Linked DNA regions of Homo sapiens: regions 1, 2, 3, 4, 5 and 6 are each linked to region 7. Evidence: promoter capture Hi-C in 16 types of primary human blood cells and fetal thymus (Javierre and others, 2016). All regions are on one chromosome and are shown on one strand. The core of a region is centred on a gene start or on the middle of the fragment in contact, and the rest is flanking DNA. Distances in the headings are between cores, read along the strand shown. Region 1 overlaps YES1 (YES proto-oncogene 1, Src family tyrosine kinase). Region 2 overlaps YES1 (YES proto-oncogene 1, Src family tyrosine kinase). Region 3 has its middle 5.2 kb from the start of YES1. Region 4 overlaps ENOSF1 (enolase superfamily member 1). Region 5 overlaps ENOSF1 (enolase superfamily member 1). Region 6 overlaps TYMS (thymidylate synthetase). Region 7 holds the start of METTL4 (methyltransferase 4, N6-adenosine).

Region 1 (3,164 bases), core at 661-3,160, 1.8 Mb after region 7:
ATTCTCATTTAATGACTCACCATTGTCCTCTCCAACAAAACTCCTCTCCTGTCTTAACTCATTGTCATCTTAATACACATGGTGATGATTCTTCTATTACCCTGGTCTCTTGTAGCTTGAACTCTTCTCCTGTGTAATCTTGTCTTTCACTCTACCTTAGCCAGTCTTTCCATCTTCATACCTTAAACCTTAATGTTACCAATAACTGCAACCCTTTCAAAATCTATTTCATGCATCTACTTTCTGACCACCACTTGCCATCTTTCCAGATAACTCCCTCCACCCCAACCCTAGCAATTTCTTGATGCTACCAGGATCTTTACTCCACTGTTTCTGCCACCTTTTCCTGCTTCTCACCCCCTTCATGAAACAATTCTACTCCTTAAATTCCCTAGTGAAGCAGTATAATCACTCCTTTGCTGATTTCACCCTTCTCTGATTTCATCATCATTGCTTAGCAAAATCACCACATTAAATAAATCCAACTCTGCCTACACCACACTTGCAGACAGGGCTAGAAAAAAACCACACAGCCATGCAACATAGTGTCACTTTAAATGTATAACCATGAGGAACTTTCAGTTTTAGCTATGATGGAGAGGCTAATATCCAACTTATTATAGCACTGTAAACAACTACAAAAGTTAAATAAAATATGTAAAAGAACTGATAGGACATTGCATCAAGGAAGCCCATTTATATTGGCTTTTCTGAAGGCATTTTCTAAAATAGCACAGGGCAGTAAAACCCAGACAGAAAGCATAAGTCTTATTAAGCAAATGAGGCAGAGATCCTAGTGCTGGGATCTGAAGGACAGGGTCCCAGAGAAGGAACCATAGGGAAAGAACTCTAAAATTCTGCTTTAAAATTCCAGTTGGGCGTGGTGACTCACTCCTATAATCCCAGCACTTTGGGAGGCTAAGGTGGGTGGATCGCTTGAGCCCAGGAATTTGAAGCTGCAGTGAGCTATGATTGCGCCACTGCACTCCAGCCTGGGCAACAGAGCAAGACCCTGTCTCAAAAAAAAAAAAAAAAAAATCCTCTTGGGTCCTTGGTCAGTTCTAATCTGCACATACACAGGGAGAGTCTCTGGGAGACCTAACAGAAAATAGCCACTAGGAGGCTGGGGAGTCGAGCAGAGTTCAGAGGCTACAGAGTGCTGAGGAGTTCTTGCCCAGCCAAACTGGATAGATGTTGGAGAATACGCTAGGCTTTTTGTTGAGACCCCAGAAAGTCCATACCCTAGGAGAAAGGGCAAAACTGAGCAAAACTAAGCCCTAACAACTAGGTGATCTGCTGGTAAATTCCAAATGGAATTAAACTGAACATCCTTCAGAAAAAGATAACATGATCCAGATAATCTACAGTGTATGATTCAAAATGTCTAGCACAAAATAAAAAGTTACTAGATATATGAAGAAGGGAAGAGATGACTGATTATCAAGAGTTCAAAATCTGGCTGGGCGCTGTGGCTCACGCCTGTAATCCCAACACATTGGGAAGCCAAGGCGGGTGGATCACAAGGTCAGGAGTTTGAGACCAGCCTGGCCAAGATGGTAAAACCCCATCTCTGCTAAAAATACAAAAATTAGCCAGCCATGGTGGCGGGCGCCTGTAATCCCAGCTACTCGGGAGGCTGAGGCAGGAGAATCGCTTGAACCCAGGAGGTGGAGGTTGCAGTGAGCTGAGATTGCGCCGCTGCACTCTGGCCTGGGTGACAGAGCGAGACTCTGTCTCAAAAAAAAAAAAAAAAAAAAAAAAAGTTCAAAATCAATAGGAGCAGACTCTGAGATAATCCAAATCTTGGAGTTAGCAAAAGACTTCAAAATAGCAATATATGGAATGTTAAAATAGAAGAAAAGTTTTGCAAAATAATGAAAAACTGGAGAATTTGAGCAGAATTGGAATCTATTAAAAAAAAAAGAATCAAATGGAAATTGTATTTATTTATTTATTTATTTTCTTTTGGGACAGAGTCTCGCTCTGTCTCCCAGGCTGGAGTACAGTGGCACGATCTTGGTTCACTGCAGCCTCCGCCTCCCAGGTTCCAGCGATTCTCCTGCCTCAGCCTCCCAAGTAGCTGAGATTACAGGCGTGAGCCACCCCGCCTGGCCCTCAAATGGAAATTTTAGAACTGTAAAACATTATATCAAATTAAGTACTCACTAGATGGGCATAATAGAAGACAAGATTAGTGGATTCAGACACATTAACAAAGTATCCAAGGTAATGCATAGATAAAAGCTAATGGGGAAGAAAGCAGAACAGAATGTATGAAACCAGTGGGGCATAGTGAAAAGGTCTAATTTGTGGAGTCCCAGAAGCAGAAGAGAGAAAAAAATGAAACAGTAACAACATTTTTAAAAAGTAATGGCTAAAAATCTTCTAAATATGATAAAACAAAATACTAGCCCACAGATTAAGTGAACCTCAAACAAGAAAATTAAACTCAGTGAAATTCAAGCAAACATATCATGGTCAAATTACAAAAATCAAAGCCAAACAGCCATAAGGAGGTGGTGCAGATTGAGCATTCCTAATTCAAAAATCCGAAATGCAGCTGGGCGCAGTGGCTCAGGCCTGTAATCCCAGTACTTTGGGAGGTCGAGGCCAGTGGATCACGAGGTCAGGGGTTTGAGACCATCCTGGCCAATGTAGTGAAACCCCATCTCTACTAAAAATACAAAAATTAGCTGGGCATGGTGGCACACACCTGTAGTACCAGCTACTTGGAGGCTGAGGCAGGAGAATCACTTGAACCTGGGAGGCAGAGGTTGCAATGAGCCAAGATTGCACTACTGCACTCCAGCTTGGGCAACAGAGCAAGACTTCATCTCAAAGAGAAAAAAAACCGAAATGCTCCAAAATCCAAAACTTTTTGAGCATTGACATAACAACACAAATGGAAAATTCCACACCCGTCCTCATGTGACAGGTCACAGTCAAAATACCATCAAAATTTTGTTTTGTGCAGAAAATTATTTTTAAAATTATGTAAAATTACCTTCAGGCTATATGTATAAGGTGTATATGAAACATAAATGAATTTTTTTTTTTTTGAGACAGGGTCTCTGTCACCCAGGCTGGAGTGCAGTGGCACAATCAGGGCTCACTGCAGCCTCTACCTCCCTGGGCTCAGGTGATCCTCCCACCTCAGCCTCCCA
Region 2 (3,113 bases), core at 424-2,923, 1.8 Mb after region 7:
CACTGGTTCAAAATGCCACCTTTTAGTGTTTGCAAATTCTTTTTACTCTTGGGCCTGTTTCTGGGCTCTTTCTTTTGAGGGATTTAATTGTTTATTTTATTTATTTATTTTATGAGACAGAGTCTTCCTCTGTCACCCAGGCCAGTGCAGTGGTGCCATCTTGGCTCACTGTAACCTCCACCTCCCGGGTTCAAGTGATTCTCCTGCCTCAGCAACTGAGACTACAGATGCCTGCCACCACGCCCGGCTAATTTTTGTATTTTTAGTAGAGACGGGTTTCACTATGTTGGGCAGGCTGGTCTTGAGCTCCTGACCTTGTGATCTGCCCGCCTCGGTCTCCCAAAGTGCTGAGATTACCAGCGTGAGCCACTGCACCCGGCCTAATTGTTTGTTTCTATGCCAATACCAAATAGCTTGATGCTGTTGATTATAACCATGATAACAGCAACTAATGTGTATTGATAATTGACTGTGTGACAGTCCCTGTATAAATACTTTAACATATTTAGCTAACTCATTTCTCACAGAACCTTCAACAGTTAAGTATTCTTGATATCTTTATTTTTACAGATAAAGAAATAGGCTTCAAGAGGTTAAATTTACTCAAATTACACGCTAGGACTGTAACCTAACTTTGTGACTCCAGAGCCTATACCCTTAACCATGAGGCTGTGATTCCTAGAAGGACAAATTTCCTGTTTTCCTTTTCAAAACTTTCTCAGCTATTCATATGCATTTACTTTTTCATGTGAACTTCATTGTGATTTTGATTTAATGTTACTTAGATTTATGTAGGAAGGATGGGCATCTTTGTAATGTACCTTCTAAAAATAAGTGATGTGTTTATTTTTTGAGATTGTCTTTTATATCCCAGTTTTATTATATAGACTCTGAACTTTTGTTTTACTTACTCATAGGTCTTATGTGTGTGTGTGTGTGTGTGTGTGTGTGTGTGTTTAAGTTCTGGGATACATGTGCTGAACGTGCAGGTTTGTTACATGGGTACACATGTGCCATGGTGTTTTGCTTCACCTATCAACCCGTCATCTAGTCTTAAGCCCCGCATGCATTAGGTATTTCTCCTAATGCTCTCCCTCCCCTTCCCCCCACCCCCTAACAGGCCCCAGTGTGTGATGTTCCCCTCCCTGTGTCCATGTGTTCTCATTGTTCATCTCCCACTTATAAGTGAGAACATACGGTGTTTGGTTTTCTGTTCCTGTGTTAGTTTGCTGAGGATGATGATTTCCAGCTTCATCCATGTCCTTGCAAAGGACATGAACTCATTTCTTTTTTATGGCTGCATAGTATTCCATGGTGTATAGGTGCCACATTTTCTTTATCCAGTCTATCATTGATGGGGATATGGGTTGGTTCCAAGTCTTTGCTGTTGTAAATAGTGCTGCAAGTTTATTTAGAAATAACTTCAAAGTTCAGAAAAGTTGCAAGAGTAGCACAAAGAACTGGATACCCTCCACCCAGATTTACCAGTTGTTAACATTTTGTCACATTTCCTTTATGTTTCCCTCCTTGGGTATGTGTGTATACGTGTCCCCACCACCACCATTTGAAAGTTAATTGCAAATGGCATGTCTCAGTACCCTTAAATATTTCAGTATGTATTTCCTAAAACAAGGACGTTTTCTTATACAACTGCAGTACAGTTACTGAATTCAACAAGTTCAACATCAGTATAATACAGTTACCTAATTTGCAGTTGCGGATTCAGTTATGTTCCCCAAAAGGGTCCTAACCCTCAGTACCTGTGAATGTGGCCTTATTTGGAAATAGCATCCTTTGGGAGGCCAAGGCAGGCGGATCACGAGATCAGTAGATTGAGACCATCCTGGCTAATGGGTGAAACCTTGTCTATACTAAAAATACAAAAATTAGCCAGGCATGGTGGCACGCGCCTGTAGTTCGAGCAACTTGGGAGGCTGAGGCAGGAGAATTGCTTGAACCCGGGAGGCAAGGTTGCAGTGAGCCGAGATTGCACCACTGCTCTCCAGCCTGGGCGACAGAGTGAGACTCCGTCTCAAAAAACAAAACAAAACAAAAACCAAAAACCCACATGTGAAGACAGACACCCAGAGAGAATGCCTTGTGACAACAGAGGCAGAAATTGGTGGGATGCACCTGTAAGCCAGGAGCACGAAGGATTGCCAGCTACCATCAGAAGCTAGGAGGAGGCAAGGAAGGATGGTATCCAGAGTGTCAGGGGGAGCATAGCCCTGCTGACACTTGAATTTTGGACATCCTGCCTCCAGAACTATGACATAATAAATTTGTTATTTTAAGCCATTTTTTTTCTACAGCAGCCCTAGGAGGGAACAATAAAGGAAATGTGGCAAGGAAAGTAATACAGTAGTTCATATATTTTTCCAATTGTCCTAATAATATTCTTTATAACAAAAATCCAAAATCCAATCTAGAAATACATGTTGCATTTAATTGTCATGTTTCTTTAGTCTCCTTTAATCTGAACAGTTCTTCAGGCTTTATCTTTCATGACATTGATATTTTTAAAAGTTAGACTACTGGTTTTGTATAGTGTACATCGATGAGTTTTTGTTTGATGTTTCCTCATGATTTGATTTAGATTATGAATTTGAGGCAGGAGTACCACTTAAAGGCTATTATGTTCTTCAGAGTACAAGACATCAGGAGGCACGCTGTGTTAGTCTATCCTACTATTGGCAGTATTAACTTTGATTACTTAGTTAAGTGATATCTGTCAGGTTTCATCACCACAAAATGAACATATTTCTCTTTTTAGTAAATTACAGATAAGGTAATAGTTTTTGCTTCCATTGATGATTCCTTGGCTGAATTAATTATTGCAGTAAGAGTTGTTCTGGGATACGTGTGCTGAATGTGTAGCTCTCTTACTCCAAGTTTAGTAGTTGGGATTCTGTAAGAGAGAACCTTCCTGTCCTTATTTATTTATCAGAGTGACTTATGGATTATCTTAGTCAACTAGTTGTAATCTGTTAGTGTCACCATTTTTTTTTCTTGATGCTCAGATTCTGTGTTTGGTCAGCAAGAGCCTCTTCAAACTAGTTCCTATGTACTTTTGATAGATCCCTATCATTTGTTGAGTACTACTTTATAACTAT
Region 3 (3,158 bases), core at 62-2,561, 1.8 Mb after region 7:
GCACGGTGGCTCATGCCTGTAATCCCAGCACTTTGGGAGGCCTAGGCAGGTGGATCACGAGGTCAGGAGGTTGAGACCATCCTGGCTAACACAGTGAAACCCCGTCTCTACTAAAAAAAAATACAAAAAATTAGCCAGGCATGGTGGCGGGCGCCTGTAGTCCCAGCTACTTGGGAGGCTGAGGCAGGAGAATGGCATGAACCCGGAAAGCGGAGCTTGCAATGAGCTGAGATCGTGCCACTGCACTCCAGCCTGGGCAACAGAGAGAGGCTCCCTCTTGAGAAAAAAAAAATCTCTTAATATAGGCCAAAAGACACAGAATTTATCAGGAGGCACTCTGTTTTATGAATGAATGAGCTGATTTTTAAAATATTAAACAATCTTACCTAGTGTTGGGCTATTATTAACTGTTAATGACTTTTATCATTGAGTTACTATGGAAGGTTTAACTATACAGTTACACAGTCAGAGCAGATTAAAATACGAACCTTAATATTGACGTAACTTGGACATTTTGTATTTGGTAAGGTAATTTATGCATGTATATGGTCATTTCCCATATTTGGTTCTTTGTTGGAAGACCATGATTTTAGGTAGTGTCGATGGAAGTTTGACTTGATAGATGCAAATAACTAATCTCTCCAGAGAGTCATATTTAATACATGCTTTTTTTTCTGAAATGAATTCATTCTTTTTAGGCTAGTCTCTCATAAATCTGTTTGCTCCAACCCTTTCTTCGGGATGTGAGATTGTAATATAAAGAAGGATTTCCTTGAATTTGTACACTCTCACATTTCTTAGCTATATCTTCCTAATTTTAAAGGCAATTTACCCATTTTTATGATTCCAGAATTTAGAGAAATAATATTTTACATGGTCACTGAAATAACATTTAAAAATAATTTCTTTTTTGTAATCACAGTGACTTTGAGTAGAATAGGTTTTGGAGCATCTCCTCTTATTAGTTGTCTGTTGCTTAACCCCTCCAAGCCTGAGGCATCCAATCAGTAAATGGTGATAATACTACCAACCTCCAAGGTTATTGTGCAGATTCAGTGAATGATGTAGGTAAAGCACCTGGCATATAGTGAAGGCTCAATAAAAAGACAGCCATTGCCACTGCTGTTGTTTATCAATCCTCATGTCTGCACTGATTAATTCATTCATTCACATGACGTAAAACACCTTTCATCAAAGCATGGGTCTTACATTAAACATTTGTTGCATATGTGCTTTCCTTAGAAAAAAGAAACATTAAGTAGCTATTTCAAGTAATCAAAAGCCCTTTTCATATACAAGTCAAAGAAGATGAACATAGTTTGTTAATATTAAATGTTTTATTGTTTTTTGGTTTGTTTTTGAGACAAGAGTCTCACTCTGTCGCCCAGGCTGGAGTGCAGTGGCGTGATCTTAGCTCACTGCAACCTCTGACTCCCAAGTTCAAGCGATTCTCCTGCCTCAGCCTCCAGAGTAGCTGGGATTACAGGCGTGTACCATCATGCCTGGCTAATTTTTGTATTTTAGTAGAGAGGGGTTTTCACCATGTTGGCCAGGCTGGTCTCAAACTCCTGACCTCAAGTGATCCACCTGACTCAGCCTCCCAAAGTGCTGGGATTAGAGGCGTGAGCCACCGCGGCAGGCCTGTTTTACTCTTTACATCATATAATATCTCTAGTCAGAATTTAAAATTTGCTCAATGTGAAAAATAAGGATCTATACAGCCAAAAATGCATAAAGAAGATTTAGCCTTAGAGAGGAGATTAAAACAAGGTTTTCAAAAGCATGGATTTATTCTAAACACATTAAAAAAAAAACCCAGTTACAGTGTTACCTTGCAAAACATCTAATACAAATTTCCTTAATACTAACCTTTTATGTTTCATGATCTGATGTCCGTTAACTTTAAAGATAAGAGCTTGATTTATAGTTTCTTTTCTAAACACTCAATGCAGGTAAACAATCTACTTTAACTTCTTGCCTTCAAGCAATGTTATGTTCTACTTTTCATAACCCATTTGTAAAGATTTCCAGGAAGTAGCAATCTGGTAGCAATTTTACTGGTGTCTAAACTCAATGTCAGACACTGACACGACTATATATCAGCTTAATATTTCAGAAAAGTATGGGCCAAACACTTGCTAATGACTACAGAAATTGCAAATATAGACTCAGGAGGAAATTGTAAGCCGATAGGGCAGAGATATGAAATGGTTTTCAATGTATTCTAACTCCAGTTTTGCAGTGGCTGTTGCCTGAATTGTGTTGAGGATTCTGAGGATGGTATTAATGCTCTGGGGGAGAGTATATGCTATGCCATGGTCTAAAAGCCATGACTGCCATGGGCAAGCAGGAGGAGAGACTGACCTGCCAGCTCTGTTCTAGGTTTGGGGTCTTCTATGTGACAAAAGTCACAAGTCTCAAGTCTCAGTGTTGGGGTCCCACAATCTCTTATCTCCCACCTCTGGCTGTGCCTGCTTCATCCTCTGTGAAAACTGGATTCCCCATCCCACTCCCACTGCCTCTCCAAGCACGTGGCAGGAGATGCCACCCTCACAGCTCCTGAGTTTACTGTTGGCTGCACAAGTAAGTAGCAAAGACTAAGTAATGGTTTTCATTTGCAAAGAACAAAAATGGTCTCTATTGAAGCATAAAGGGAATTTATTGGAGGATGGTGAGAATCAACAGGAAGACTAGAGGAGCAGGCTCAGGCAGGAAGCAAGGAAGGCAAGACAAAGTCCAGGTTCTGCCACGGGGATGGTATGCTCATGACGCAGGCACCACCAGCACTGGAATCCTCTACCCCTGGACACTCATCTTCTGTCATTTGACTCAACTCCACCATGGTTACCATGAATAATCACTAACCGAGTTACTTTTGTGTTACTCCTCAAAATTCAAACTTTCAGCCTAGAACCTGGGATTAGCAGTACTCAGATCATAGGCCTACATGCCACCTATCGAAGAATTAATTCTCAGAGAAGAGGAACTTGAGTTAAACAGGCACCCTCAAGAGGTGTCCACTACAGGCTGTATTCTACTCGGCAGAGGGCATGTAAGAGGATGTAAGGTGCTCATCTGGCCTAGAAACTGCTGTCACCAAACAGAGTGAGAAACCAAGCTGAGCCTATGAAAGTCTGAAGCTGTGGGTAAAGCTACCT
Region 4 (3,547 bases), core at 914-3,413, 1.9 Mb after region 7:
CCTCGTGATCCGCCCACCTATAGTCCCAGCTACTCGGAGAGGCTGAGGCAGGAGAATGGCGTGAACCCAGGAGGAGGAGCTTGCAGTGAGCCAAAATCGCACCACTGCACTCCAGCCTGGGTGACAGAGCGAGACTCCATCTCAGAAAAAAAAAAAAAATTAGCAGGGCGCGGTGATGTGTGCCTGTAATCCCAGCTACTCAGGAGGCTGAGGCAGGAGAATGGCTTGAGCCTGGGAAGTGGAGGTTACGGTAAGCCAAGTTTGCGCCATTGCACTCCAGCCTGGGCGACAGAGCAATACTCCATCTCAAAAAAAAAAAAAAAAAAAAAACACAACAGCATAGTGACAGCTGAAGCACAGATAATGTGACTGGTGGCTACATGTAGAGTCCATTGAGACAGAGGGTGTGTGGGAGGTGAGGAATGGGCAGGGAGAAACCCAGGCAGGGATGGGAGCGAGGAGGCTTTTCCAGGAATCTGAGAGAGATAAAGGGAGAGGGCAGCTTGAATAGAGCAGATTCAGGAAATATTGAAAAGGAGGAAAAACATTTGGCCCCTAGTCTGCCATATATGCTTAAAATGGTAGAACAAATAAGTCAAATGGCCTTTCCTCCTCCCCCTTCCTCCGTTTCTCCCTTTCTCTTCTCTTTGGAGATAAATAACCAAGAGTACTTAAATTAGAAATTTTAAGAAGCATAAAATGTTGGCTTGAAAAGGTGCCTTAGAGACCATCTGCTCAAACTAAGGCCTTCTGCAGATGAGGAGGCCGAGGCTTTGGGTGGCACAGGCGGGGCTTGCCCAAGGCCACACATCCCGTGAGATGCGGGGCCAGCACCGGAATCAGGGATACTTGGCTGCTGAGTGAAGGGATTTTTCTGCTGAGAAGTTGGCTTAGTCTGATTATTCAGATGCCTCCTCTGGCTCTGGAATCAGTGGAGTTCCAACCCAGTCTCTACCACTTTCTAGCTTTGTGATCCAGGAACAGTTCAAACCCGGCACACAGTTTTATCATTTTTTATAAAATGGGGATAACGCTGGCTCCTCTCCCATTGGATTGAGACCAGGAATCATTTAAGTCAGTGTTTTGCACAGCACCTGACAGGTACTCAGAGCTCCAAAAATGTTAGCTGTCAGTGTGATTACTATTACCCTAAGCAAAGGGAAGGGAAGCCAGGGAGGAACCAAGGCTACCTGTGCGGAGTAGCTGTGGAGTCGCAGTCACAGTAGAGGATGGATGGGAGCGCCCAGAGTCCAGGTGGCAGGTGACGGAGGTAGTGTTCAGGGGCCAGGTGAGAGGACAGAGAGCAGCAGGGCTGTGTTCAGGTGCAGAGTCCAGTACCTCACCAGGTGAGGACTCTACCAGGTGAGCAATGGTCTCAGCCTAACCTGCAGATTGAGGTCTGAGGCCACCCACTGAGCTGGAAGGAAGAGGATTTTTTTTTTTTTCATGGATTTTTCCTGCCTTAAGGAAGAGGATTTTGGAATCAACAAAGACATGAGGCCAGGTGCAGTGGCTCACACCTGTAATCCCAACACTTTGGGAGGCCGAGGCGGGAGGATCATCTGAGGTCAGGAGTTTGAGACCAGCCTGGCCAACATGGCAAAACCCTGACTCTATTAAAAATACAAAAATTAGCCAGCATGGTGGCGTGCACCTCTAATCCCAGCTACTCAGGAGGCTGAGGCACGAGAATCGCTTCAGCCTGGGGGGTGGAGGTTGCGGTGAGCTAAGATCATGCCACTGCACTCCAGCTTGGGTGACAGAGCAAGACTCGGTCTCAAAAAAAAAAAAAAAAAAAGATATGAGAGGGTTCTAGAAGGAGGTTTCTCAGGGAGGCAAGAAGAAGGGAATTGATGGAGTGATGACCCACAGGAAGGAGTCGTCCAAAGGTTGGACCCTGTGAGTCCACAATGAGCCACTCCGAATAGCCCTGTCCTTATGCCACTGCGCAGGCTGGAGAGGGAGGTGCTGTCCACGTTGGGAGGAGCGCAGCTGGAGCATGGGCCGGGACACCGCAGAAGGAGATCTGCAGAGCCCTGGTCAGGAACGGGGCTGGTGGTGGCAGCTCAGCAGTGCTCACCTTCTCCTCTGCAGATACACAGAGCCCTCCCGCACGCATGTGTTCCCCTGGACATCCTTTGCCAGTCTTGAGCCTTCACATGGCTTAACAGCAGGGCCGTTTCCTCCTTCAGCTATAAATGTTTTTAAACATTAGGAGTTGCAGTTCAAAACTTAGGAAAATAACACCAGGCTGCCTTCTATTTTATAGGCACTGGTCCCATTAGGAATTGGCATTGCCACAGGAGAACAGGTGAGTGACGCCCCCAACAGGTGGATGACGTCCCCTTGGGGTCAGTACACGCTGACCAGTGACCGAGGACACAGTTGTGTGTTAGGCTCCATCACCTGCTGTACTTTGAGTTGGGAAATTTTCATCATCTTAGAAACTGGGTCATTTTATCAGAGTCTAGAGTCAGATATAGAAAAAGTTTGTGGCTATTTCTCCAATTTATATGACTAAGGTCGGGTATCTTTTTCAAAGTGTCTAATTGAAATTGAAAAGGCAGCAATTTAAAGTTGCTATTGCAAGGGCAGAAAATGGTCTTAAGAAAGCCAGCTTTCAAATTGAATAAACATGACTGCGTTCACTTTTTGAGCTTATAAATGAAGCCCGAGTGCCTGCCAAAACCTGCTGCAGTCAGCCCACGAGCAGAGCAGCGTGAGGAGCTGATTCTCAGTTTTCCCGGCAAAAGGAGCAATACTGCTCTGCCGTGGTTCCGTGTTGTCATCTGTGCCACCTGCTCATCACTGTCACCGTATTTCATCCTGATGCTTCATCTCCCACTTATCAGTCGCTGTGACAGTCATTCCCTCATAAATGGCGAGCCAGTGTGATTTTGACCTGACTCACACTGTTGCATTAGCAGATTTGTAAAGAAGTGAGCACAAGGTCCCTGCCCACGCTATAAAAGCTCGCCTCATGCCCAGCGAGAACAAAGAAGAAATACAGTCTGGGCTTCCTGACGGCCACTGATGAATAATTATTGGCATAGAGTGGCTGCGTTGCCAGGTTTAGAGATCCTGAAGGCCAAGGCTGACTCTTCTGTTGGTGTTATTTTCAATTCTATTTCCAGTGCCACAATAGAGTGATATTTAAGCAACTCCTACAGGCGAAGGCCCTGCAGTTCCTCCAGATTGACAGTTGCAGACTGGGCAGTGTCAATGAGAACCTCTCAGTATTGCTGATGGCCAAAAAGTTTGAAAGTAAGCGTGCTGCAGCGGCTGCAGACCAGACCTTCATTTCCCCACTAATCAGACACCTCCCTTGATGGTTTGCAATTCACATGCATGGGAGTCTGTAGTTTGCCATTTCGATTTTTTTCTAACTCTCATTTAGCTTTAATCCGGGAATTTTTGATGATTTTCATCTTGGAATTTCCTTCCTAAATATTAATAAATGATTTAATCACCTGTGGGCAATAAGAAAAACCAGAAAGTTCCCTTTCACCCCTTCCTCTCCCTGCCCTACTCTTGGTATTAAATAGAA
Region 5 (3,307 bases), core at 144-2,643, 1.9 Mb after region 7:
GCCTCTGGAGTAGCTGTGATTACAGGTGTGCACCACCACACCTGGCTAATTTTTGTATTTTTGGTAGAGACGGGGTTTCACCATGTTGTCCAGGCTGGTCTCGAACTCCTGAGCTCAGGTGATCCACCTGCCTCGGCCTCCCAAAGTGCCGGATTACAGGCATGAGCCACTACTCCGGGCTTACCTCCTTCTTAATCTGAAATCTACTTCTGTTCCTTTCTTCTCTGTGAATTGCCCTTGTTATTTCTCCTTCAGCTGTCCTTACCCTCAGATACGTTTTCCGCTGTCGGCTGCCTCTTCTTCGTGTGCTCTCTCCCCTCGTGGCCTCCTGCCTTTCTGACAGCTCCTTCTTCCTCCACTGGCCCCTTCTTCCCTCTCTGAGGCTCAGGCCTCAGTGTCTTTCCGGTCTCCCTACACACTCCCATGAAGACCCTCTCCGCATTCTGACTTCGGTGCCACCCTTTATGCCGGAGACTCCCAGATCTCATTTCCGGATCTGCCTCCTTAACTTATAGGTCTGGATACTTCCTGTTTGGTTTTTCACCTTCATGCTAAACGCAGTTTGTCTAAATCGGAAGTCAACTTCCATTCTCTGCCGCCCCTCCCTCCTGACCCATGTTGGATCATTCCGCTAATCACAGGGACCCAAAAGCTTCGAGTCACTTTTGGCTCATCTCGTCCTGTTGACCCTCATCTGAGGCTTCAGTGCAAGGTTTCCTTTTTCCATTGCTTCCTCTTCTTGGAACCCAGAAACTGCCGATGGGTCTTTAATTCTTGGAGTCTCCTTCTCAGCCTCATCGCTCAACTCCTTCAGGAACCCAATGGCTCAGCCAACCCAGGTGGGCACCAACACTTGAATACACTCCAGTCTCTCCCTCTTCTGACCCCTTTACTTTCTGCACTGCTGCTGCTGCTACCTTGCCTGAGATATTCCTCCCTCCCAGACTCTTCACTCCCCTTGCCACTGCTGAGGAGCTCCCCTTCCTTGACCGGCCAGCTCACATTCTGTCTTCATCATAAAGCGCTCTCCCTCTTCAAGAAGCACATTCAGCTAACAGCGCTCTCTGCCAGTCGTTCATAGTTTGCATCCCTCCCAGGCCTTAGCATTTTCTGCCTTATATTATTAAGGTTTTTTTTTAACCATGTCTTTTTATTTATTTATTTTAGAGATGGGGTCTCGCTTTGTTGCCCAGGCTAGTCTCGAACTCCTGGGCTCAAACAATCCTCCTGTCTTGGCCTCCCAAAGTGTTGGGATTACAGGTATGAGCCAGCATGCCCGTTCTATAAGCAGGTCTTCTCAAATGTAACCTCCTCAAGGGCAGACGTATCTGTAACCCCCTAGCAAGCTGCACCAGCTCTGACACGTACTTGATGCTCAGCGATGCATCACACTGATTTCCTGCCACTGGACTGTGATACCAGACTCAGGGCTCCCAGCCATCACATACAGCTCCCTCAGCCACGACACCCCAATACAGGGATTTAAAATCTGCCTTCATAATTTACTTGTGGCCGGGCGTGGTGGCTCACACCTGTAATCCTAGCACTTTGGGAGGCCGAGGCAAGTGGATCACCTGAGGTCAGGAGTTCAAGACCAGCCTGGCCAACATGGCAAAATCCCATCTTTACTAAAAAAAAAAAAAAAAAGCTGGTCATAGTGGTGGGTGCCTGTAATCCCAGCTACTTGGGAGGCTGAGGCAGAAGAATCGCTTGAATCCAGGAGGCAGAGGTTGCAGTGAGCCAAGATCATGCCACTGCACTCCAGCCTGGAGAACAGAGTGAGAGTCAGTCTCAAAAATAATAATAATAATAATAATAAAACATTATTTACTTGTGGTGTGACCTTTTGTAAATTACTAAAGCTCCTTAAAACTTCATTTCCTCTTTAATAAGGATAAGAGCACCTACTTTATAATATTGTTATAAGATTAAATTAAACCATGTGGAGCTCTTAGAATATAGTGTGTCTGGCACAATAAATATTATAGAATAATAACAGTAATAAATTTTCATAGCCTTATGCACAATTCTTCTTTATGAATGCATTCACATCTTCTGCCTGGCTTTTTGGAGTCTCCATTATTCCATGACATAGAACAAAACAAAAAATTAGTGAATTAATCTCGAAGCTTTACTTCTTCATTTTCCCCCACTGGTGTCTGAACTTTTGCCAATGTATTTTCAGCCCTGCTATAAACTGCTATAAGTGAGATCACTCCAATTTTATGCAACAGTTTTCTGAACCTTTGGCTTGTTCAATTTGAAGCTGCTTGTGAATGTAACTTTGTTCAAAAAGCTGACAGAGATAGCTGCGAGTGAAAACTCCTTGGCTTAAAATTGAGCCCCTTCCGGGCATGATGGCTCATGCCTGTAATCCCAGCACTTTAAGAGGCCCAAGCGGGTGGATCACTAGAGCTCTGGAGTTTGAGACCAGCCTGGGTAACATGCAAGACTCCATCTCTATTTTTTTATTTAAAAAATAAATAAGTAAATAAAATTGAGCCTCATTTTTTAACCTAATTGAAAATGGGTGATAAAAATGTATACATTGCGACCAGGTGCGGTGGCTCACACTTGTAATCCCAGCACTTTGGGAGGCCAAGGCAGGTGGATCACCTGAGGTCAGGAGTTCAAGACCAGCCTGGCCAACATGGTGAAACTTCGTCTCTATTAAAAATACAAAAATCAGCCAAGTGTGGTGGCACGTGCCTGTAATCCCAGCTACCCGGGAGGCTGAGGCAGGAGAATCGCTTGAACTTGGGAGGCTGCAGTTGCAGTGAGCTGAGATCGCACCATTGCACTCCTGCCTAGGTGACAGAGCAAGACTCTGTCTCAAAAAAGAAAAAAAAAAAAAATATATATATATATACATACATTGCTCTTGTTGAAACATTTTGGATCTTTCAGGAGGACATTCCTTTTCTCCATTCAGAGCCCTTTGTTTTCTTTGGGGTATAGCAACAGTTCCTTCTATGGGAGCTCTTGTGGCACGGCCCCTGTGGCATTGTCTGTCCTCATGTGACATCATTCTCATGGTTCTTTTCGGGTTTCTCACACTGGCATTGTTTCGGCGGGGAACTCTTCTCCTGCAGCACACGGACCCTGACTACTCGGCTGCCTATGTCGTCATAGAAACTGATGCAGAAGATGGAATCAAGGGGTGTGGAATTACCTTCACTCTGGGAAAAGGCACTGAAGTTGGTGAGTTGAAGATTCTCTCGAGGTTCCAGAATGCTTAATTTTCAGATGAGATTCTAATTTAGATTCTTAGATTCATTAGAATCTTGATTTAGATTGAGTTCTGATC
Region 6 (3,468 bases), core at 314-2,813, 1.9 Mb after region 7:
ACACAGGAAGGGGAACATCACACTCTGGGGACTGTTGTGGGGTGGGAGGAGGGGGGAGGGATAGCATTGGGAGATATACCTGATGCTAGATCATGAGTTAGTGGGTGCAGCGCACCAGCATGGCACATGTATACATATGTAACTAACCTGCACATTGTGCACATGTACCCTAAAACTTAAAGTATAATAATTAAAAAAAAAAAAAAAAAAGAGTGTGAAACGGCCTTCATGAGGCTTAATTGTGGCTTAACCTGGCACCACCCCTCACAAGGTCAAAGCTATACATCAGCTCCTGTGACATTGACTCATCCCCCAGACCTTATCTAAAACAACGGAGCAAACACATGCTAGGAAGGGCACCCGGGAAATGGAAGGCATTGTTCTATCTCCTCACCTGATTCCATATCTCTGTATTCTGCCCCAAAATGCCTCCACTGGAAGCCATAAACTGGGCCCAAGTCCCCTTCTTCTCTGGTGGAGAATCCCAGGCTGTCCAAAAAGTCTCGGGATCCATTGGCATCCCAGATTTTCACTCCCTTGGAAGACAGCTCTTTAGCATTTGTGGATCCCTGGAAGAGATGGGGAGAGCAGAGCAGGCATCCAGGTAAATCCTAAGCCATCTCAGTTGATCCCCCCGAGACACCACTTACAAGGGCCTCTGGCCCCTGCTGACTTGCTAGGAGGTGGGCACTTGACACCACCCATATGGAACCCATCCTTTTTTTTGTTTTTTGAGAGTTTCGCTCTTGTTGCCCAGGCTGGAGTGCAATGGCGCGATCGTGGCTCACGGCACCCTCCACCTCCCAGGTTCAAGCGATTCCCCTGCCTCAGCCTCCCGAGTAGCTGGGATTACAGGCATGCGCCACTACACCCAGCTAATTTTGTATTTTTAGTAGAGACAGTGTTTCTCCATGTTGGTCAGGCTGGCCTCGAACTCCTGACCTCAGGTGATCCGCCCACTTCGGCCTCCCGAAGTGCTGGGATTACAGGCGTGAGCCACCACACCCAGCTGCCCATCCTATCTTTAAGTAGGCTGGTCCCAGCCCAGATTCCTGAGGGCTTTAGGACAGTCTGATCCCTTCTTTGGAACCACCCTCCCAGATCTTTTCTTCCATTCCCCTCAACTAAGCTTTTTAGGCTAAACACCTCCAAGTGCTTTTAAGTATTCCACCGATCTGACAGTTTTATGTTTCTTAATGAAATGTGTTGTCTATATGTAATACCCCAAAATGAATTTAATGCCTACATGCAATCTGTTCAATGTATCTTCTACCTGGCATACAGGATATTCCTAATGATCAGACTAATCAGTATTTTACAGTGCAGGTGCCTCAACTCCTGTATTTGATCGAGTCACCAATGGAGTAACTCCAACTATCAAGGTGAGTCTGACATTCCTGGCAAGGATTCCTTAGAATCCTGAATTGAAGCATTAAGTTGAAACAGGGGAATGCATTTTATTTCTGAGTATCTTGCTTCCTCCCTTTCTATTGTTGAGTTTGTCCCGATTTTCTTTGATTGAGAAAGAATCAAAGAAATTTCCAACAAATCAAAGAAATTTCTCCAATTGAGAAATTTCCAACAAATCATTTCTCAATCTTTTACATATTGCTTCAAAAGTCTCTCCTTTTCATCCATTCAGACCAGGCTCTAGCCAGTTTAAGAATGTTGTCTTCTGAGGTTTCTGATGATATGTTTCAAATCCAAGGTTCATTGTTAGTCAAGATAGGCCAATACAGAACAAAATACCCCAAGAATACAGAGCTAAGGCAGACCTGGGGCTGGATCCAAATTGAAGCCCTTTCTAAAATGGGATAAGAGGGCTTGGGTCTGGCTTGCCCCAAGACCATACAAGCCATACCAAGTGCTCTATAGAAGGGATCCCAGCTTCTAGTATGGCCCAGACCTGAGCCCAGACCTCAGCCACCTTCCAAAAAGCACTGGTCAGAAAGAACATCGCTGGTTCTAGACCAGGACACGGAACACAGAGAAGCTTGGTCTGGGCTGCTGCCTGTCTTCACAGCACTCTGGCCCCGGCCTGAGGTACCTACTCAGCCCTCTGGAAGGGGTTCACCTTGTTACTGAAGAGACTCTTCTAGAATTTATATGAACATGGGAACACAGGTGGTATCTACATTTAGTGATCAATATATGTTGACTCCTACTATGTGGCAGGCTGTGTTTGAGGCCCTGGCGATACAACAGTGAACACGAGAAACAAATCCTCTGCCCTCATAAAGCTTACAGCACATTTCACTTTTACTACCTGCTGTCCCCCTTCTAACAGGGGAAGGGAAAGGCTGACATACATCAGATGGTGATGTTCGTCTATGGAGAAACACCAAGGAGGTTGGGGGAGAGTCACAGTTTTAAATCAGGAGGTCTAGGAAGGCTTGCCCGAGTGGAGTAGAGACTCAAAGGAAGAAGCCAAGTGTGGGGGAAGAAGGTTCCAGGGAGTGGGGATGTCCCGGTGTGCTCAAAAACTCACAAGAACAGCAGGGCTGGTGCAGAGAGCAGCAGCTAAGGTCAGAGCTGAAAAACGGACACCATAAGGACCGTGGCTCTTACTGAGTGAAATGGAGCCACTAAGGGCTTGAGGGTGAGGAATGATATGCTTTGACCTTTGGTGGTGTCTTTTTTTGTTTTTGACATGGGTTCTCCCTCTGTCGCCCAGGCTGGAGTACAGTGCCACGATCTCAGCTCACTACAACCTCCGCCTCGTGAGCAATTCTCATGCCTCAGCCTCCTGAGTAGCTAGGATTACAGACATGCACCAGCACACCTGGCTAATTTTTTGTGTTATTAGTAGAGACTGGGGTGTCGCCATGTTGGCCAGGCTGGTCTCAAATTCCTAACCTCAGGTGATCTGACTCAGCCTCCCAAAGTGGTGGGATTACAGGCGTGAGCCACCACACCTGGCTGCTTTGAGTTTTGAAAGGATCTCACTGGCTGCTGTGTTGAGAACAGACTACTGACTTCTAATAGCAGCGACTTCTTTACCTTGATAAACCACAGCAACTCCTCCAAAACACCCTTCCAGAACACACGTTTGGTTGTCAGCAGAGGGAATTCATCTGAAAAACAATTTGCCATACGGTTTCAAGATGGGAAGACAGATCATGCCATCCAACTTTCTTCAGGGAAGAAAACTGCCCTGGGACGTGAGGCCCTGGAGCATCCAGAAAGCCTAGACTCCCGCAAAGTGGGCCAGAGATCACGGTGGAGCTCCCAGGCTGCAAGTCCCATCAGTGGCCCGATTCAGGCTGAGACAGCACTTCTGTGCCCCGGTGACCAGTGGACACAGGAATTCCACACAGTGAGATGGTGGCGAGGGCAGGGATGAACATGTGGCAAAAGGGAGGAGCTATCATCCACTGCCCACTAGTGCTAATCCTGTCACAAAGGTGTGAAGACAACACCAAGCATGTGTCCCAGGAACAAAAAGGGAGGCATCAGAAGTGTCGAGCC
Region 7 (3,423 bases), core at 520-3,019:
CAAACAACACCTAGCAGAGTATCATGCCCACTTTTAGATTTCATTGATCCAAAATTAGGTACCCCTGGGAACAGACAAGATTCACCAAGACATCACTCATATTACATCTTTATATTAACTATTTCTTATGATTTCTTTGCCTAAGATGATAAAGCATGCAAATTAGAACCACAAGGGAAATACTCACGTTTGAGGGGTATAGAGGCCTTGTTTATTTACATCCTGGGATCTTAACTCCTGCATGGAGAGGCGGCCAGCACCACCGCTGGAAACTGAACTGCGCTTCATGCTTATGACCTACATTCACGAATTCAGTATTTAAAAAAAACTTTCCAGACAGAGATGGTACATTAAGCAACTATTTATCCTTAAACAGAAAGACAGTCAGGTTTCATTGTTTCTTCAAGATCATCATCTTTCCCCTGGGGTATCTCTTTTTTGTTCATGTACACTGAAGTTCTCATTTGCAAGGAACATCTATTTAATTCCATTTAAAAATATTCAACATAAACATTTATTAACTGCCCACTATATATATAGGGGAGTGTGCTAGGCAATGCAGGAGATGCAAAGACGAGTAAGTTACGGTTTTTGCCTTCACAAGGGTATCCGTGGTAGCTAAAGCCCTGTCTGTTACCCAGACCACATTACTGCTGTTGGCTGTGCCTATTTCAATAGGAAGACAAAAAAATTACCTCAAATTCTCTTATTCACCTCAAAATGTTTCCTTTTCTTTGGTTTCAGAGAATGGAATTATTCTGTTTTCCTAATGTCAATCTCTCCTGCTCTGTCCTTAACCCATTGTTTCCTCAATTACTGCCCTTTTGGCATCAATCTCCCCTTCAACAAGGATAAATCATCCGGTCCATAAAATGGTCTATAGGCTGCCTCCATTTACAAACCACATTAACAGGTCACTCCCTTCACATCTGCTAAAAAATTTGTCTCCTAGGATACACATGATTGACAAAACTTTTGATCCTGTCTCATCTCTGCACCCAGCCTTCTCAGGTCCTGCCCTGGCTTTCAGGAAGGTGACAATCCTTTTACTTCTCTGGGTACTCCTTAGTCTTTTACACTGATTAGACTCTTCTTGATTTTGGCCGCCTATTTCCTCTTCAATATGCGCTTGTTCATCTATTCAACTTTTCCACTCACACCTGTGTGTCCACGTTTAATCTCCACTTAGAATGTAGCTCTCATGATTTAAGATGAAGACTTCTACACGCAGTCCTACACGGCCATAAGAAGCTACACTAGTATTCAGACGCAACCCACCCAACGAGTCCTCTCTTGTCCATCTCTTTCCGCCCCCTTCAATTCTTCCCCGTTTCCTCTCCCGAGCCTCCACTCCTCATCAGTGTCCCCCAGGCCCTCCCCTTTCCTCCTTGGGAAATCGTTGCCACTAGAAATTTAATAGATCCCGTGAAACCAGCGCCTCGCACAGTTTTGGCCTCGAGGCTTCTCCCAACAGCAAACAAACACCAAAACATCGCCTCAGGACCTCTAAATTTAAGTCATTGGCGCCATCACTTTCTTCCTCCAGAACAGCTCTGCAGAAACAAAGTTAATCCGATGTCATTCAGTCACCTTTTTTCCAGTTTCCTGACACGACCCAGGGACCGAATTTCTGTAAACCGTGCAAGTATCTGCTAGACAGGACAGCGGTCATCAAAACACCAGGTCCTTCCTCGGCCCGCCAAAGCCGTTCGAATTTGAAATTCTCCGCCGGCGCTGACGTCATTACGCACGACGCGCGCAGTAACTTCCATGCGACCGCCTCGTCGCTGGAAGGCTGCGTGCTGGTCGCGCCCAGCTGCGTCACCCCAGGAACTGGGGTCTGTGGGCCAGTGTGGCCGTCTCTACGAAGACTGGCACGACCCCTAAAGTTAGGTCGGAAGACCTGTGGGCAGCTTGAGCGCCGAGGAGTGCCCTGAACGCTCAACTCGCCCTGGAAACGTTTTTCCGTACAGCAACATGGCGGCGCCCATGGACTCTTAGAAAAGGAGAAAGCTTTTTCTCTGTGGACTGGAAGGGGCATTTTTCATGATCACTATTTAGATGGGTGCTGTTTTCATGAGGAGAGTCTGGGAAGGCGGCGTCCGCTTTTCTGACAAGGGAAGAGGTGAGGTGGGAGAGGGGCTGCGGAGTGGGTGGAATGGGCTCCCAGGATTGCGTTGGTACGGCTGCCGAAATTCGGGCTCAGTATTTGATCACTTGCCGGAGGCTCACGGTCCTCTGGTGGTGGCTGACCTGTGAGAGGCTAGGAAGAATCCAAGTGTTTGGGGGCGGGCGGCGAGGGAGTGGATGTGAAGCAGAGACGCAGGAGAGGGGTGCACTAACAACAGTAACAGTAGATCACTTTGCTAAAATAGGATTTCCTCGCTGCTGTGAGTTTGAATCCAGAAACAGGCACTGCCCGGTACCTGGAGAGTGGTGGTGATGAAAGATCTCACAGCTCCAGGAAGTCTGGATACTTGGGTCTGGTAGCAATTGTGCCATTAACTAGCGTTGTTATTTTTGGGCAGCTTGCCTTTCTGCTCTGAGTTTCAATTTTCCCGTCTGAATTTCTAGCTCTCACTAGCCATTCCAGGACCCTTTTCACCTCAGCTGTGGCCTATGAAGGGGATGGGGAGGAACCAAGGATTATATTAATATAAAAATTATATGAAAATTAGGCAACCGTCTGATAATAAAAAGTCTCCTTGTGGAATACTGTTAGGTTAAACTTTACCTACAGATTGTTAAATCCTTAGCACTAATGTTTTCCCCAGAAAAGATTAATGGAAACATCATTTGCTTTTCTGACTAGATAGTTGCTGCTTCCAAAGGTGGTTTTACACAAATACAAAATTAAAAACACCTTTAGTACAGAAATAATTGCTTGTATTTCGGTATACATTCACAGTACAGTTCAGCATTTAGTGGTCCTGCTAGCAATTTGCCAGGAAGTCAAGCCTGCCAATTTCCTGATATTCCTGCTGTGCACCCCAACTTCTTAATCCCTGCTGAGGATCTTGAGAAGCAGCAGCACCAAAACCAAAGTAGGCACCAAATTCAAGGTTCTTTTGGTTCCGGTTGTCACATTTCAAGCTAGACTCCAATAGATGGAAGGATGATCACATGTGAGCCCTGTTTAAAACTTCAATTTTTAAGAGCAAGCACAATTGCAGGAAAAGAAAACAATTCAGAGGGATCATGTGTGCTTACAGTTGTCTTCATGTGGCCTTTTCCCAGGTTTAACCACCAAGGACCCTGACAGCCGGGGTGTCTGAATAACCCTGGTGACTCTTTTCACCATATCAAAACCTGAGTTAAAAGGCTGATGATAACAGCAGAAGGTGGCAGGGCTGAGGACCCACTATTAATTTCCTAGGCTGGTGGAGAGTGAATAAATGTTCTTCCAACCTTACCTTATGGCTT

Evidence for each region. Contacts are between HindIII fragments. The CHiCAGO score rates a contact against its expected background, and 5 or more counts as called.
Region 1: a fragment that was not itself captured here is called in contact with the fragment with the promoter of METTL4 in region 7 in 1 of 17 cell types (erythroblasts); the score reaches 5.0 in erythroblasts.
Region 2: a contact is called between a fragment that was not itself captured here and the fragment with the promoter of METTL4 in region 7, in 1 of 17 cell types (erythroblasts). The highest score is 7.5, in erythroblasts.
Region 3: a contact is called between a fragment that was not itself captured here and the fragment with the promoter of METTL4 in region 7, in 4 of 17 cell types (total CD4 T cells, megakaryocytes, naive CD8 T cells and 1 more). The highest score is 6.2, in total CD4 T cells.
Region 4: a fragment that was not itself captured here is called in contact with the fragment with the promoter of METTL4 in region 7 in 2 of 17 cell types (erythroblasts and M1 macrophages); the score reaches 6.0 in erythroblasts.
Region 5: a fragment that was not itself captured here is called in contact with the fragment with the promoter of METTL4 in region 7 in 2 of 17 cell types (erythroblasts and megakaryocytes); the score reaches 9.2 in erythroblasts.
Region 6: a fragment that was not itself captured here is called in contact with the fragment with the promoter of METTL4 in region 7 in 1 of 17 cell types (erythroblasts); the score reaches 10.8 in erythroblasts.

The regions. Positions count from the first base shown.
Region 1 is chr18:728,218-731,381 of GRCh38, reverse strand. The region is part of intron 11 of YES1 (YES proto-oncogene 1, Src family tyrosine kinase); the gene reads left to right. Among named protein-coding and RNA genes, the nearest start is that of ENOSF1, 17 kb to the right of the region's middle. The HindIII fragment of the contact is 6,709 bases long and covers 1-3,164 here.
Region 2 is chr18:793,756-796,868 of GRCh38, reverse strand. The region is part of intron 1 of YES1 (YES proto-oncogene 1, Src family tyrosine kinase); the gene reads left to right. Among named protein-coding and RNA genes, the nearest start is that of YES1, 17 kb to the left of the region's middle. The HindIII fragment of the contact is 4,646 bases long and covers 1-3,113 here.
Region 3 is chr18:815,851-819,008 of GRCh38, reverse strand. No RefSeq gene overlaps it. Among named protein-coding and RNA genes, the nearest start is that of YES1, 5.2 kb to the right of the region's middle. The HindIII fragment of the contact is 6,417 bases long and covers 1-3,158 here.
Region 4 is chr18:677,460-681,006 of GRCh38, reverse strand. ENOSF1 (enolase superfamily member 1) reads left to right here. Exons shown (of 16, transcript NM_017512.7): 12 at 2,270-2,311; 13 at 3,135-3,264. Among named protein-coding and RNA genes, the nearest start is that of TYMSOS, 21 kb to the right of the region's middle. The HindIII fragment of the contact is 7,224 bases long and covers 1-3,547 here.
Region 5 is chr18:706,364-709,670 of GRCh38, reverse strand. It overlaps ENOSF1 (enolase superfamily member 1), which reads left to right. Exons shown (of 16, transcript NM_017512.7): 2 at 3,093-3,201. Among named protein-coding and RNA genes, the nearest start is that of ENOSF1, 4.6 kb to the left of the region's middle. The HindIII fragment of the contact is 1,477 bases long and covers 655-2,131 here.
Region 6 is chr18:659,247-662,714 of GRCh38, reverse strand. TYMS (thymidylate synthetase) reads right to left here. Exons shown (of 7, transcript NM_001071.4): 2 at 3,001-3,074; 3 at 395-569. Among named protein-coding and RNA genes, the nearest start is that of TYMSOS, 2.7 kb to the right of the region's middle. The HindIII fragment of the contact is 864 bases long and covers 1,132-1,995 here.
Region 7 is chr18:2,569,851-2,573,273 of GRCh38, reverse strand. It overlaps METTL4 (methyltransferase 4, N6-adenosine), which reads left to right and starts at 1,769. Exons shown (of 9, transcript NM_022840.5): 1 at 1,769-2,125. It overlaps NDC80 (NDC80 kinetochore complex component), which reads right to left and starts at 1,717. Exons shown (of 17, transcript NM_006101.3): 1 at 1,591-1,717; 2 at 188-297. The coding sequence starts at 288. RefSeq lists enhancers at 1,712-1,871, 1,754-2,676. The HindIII fragment of the contact is 2,186 bases long and covers 1-2,015 here.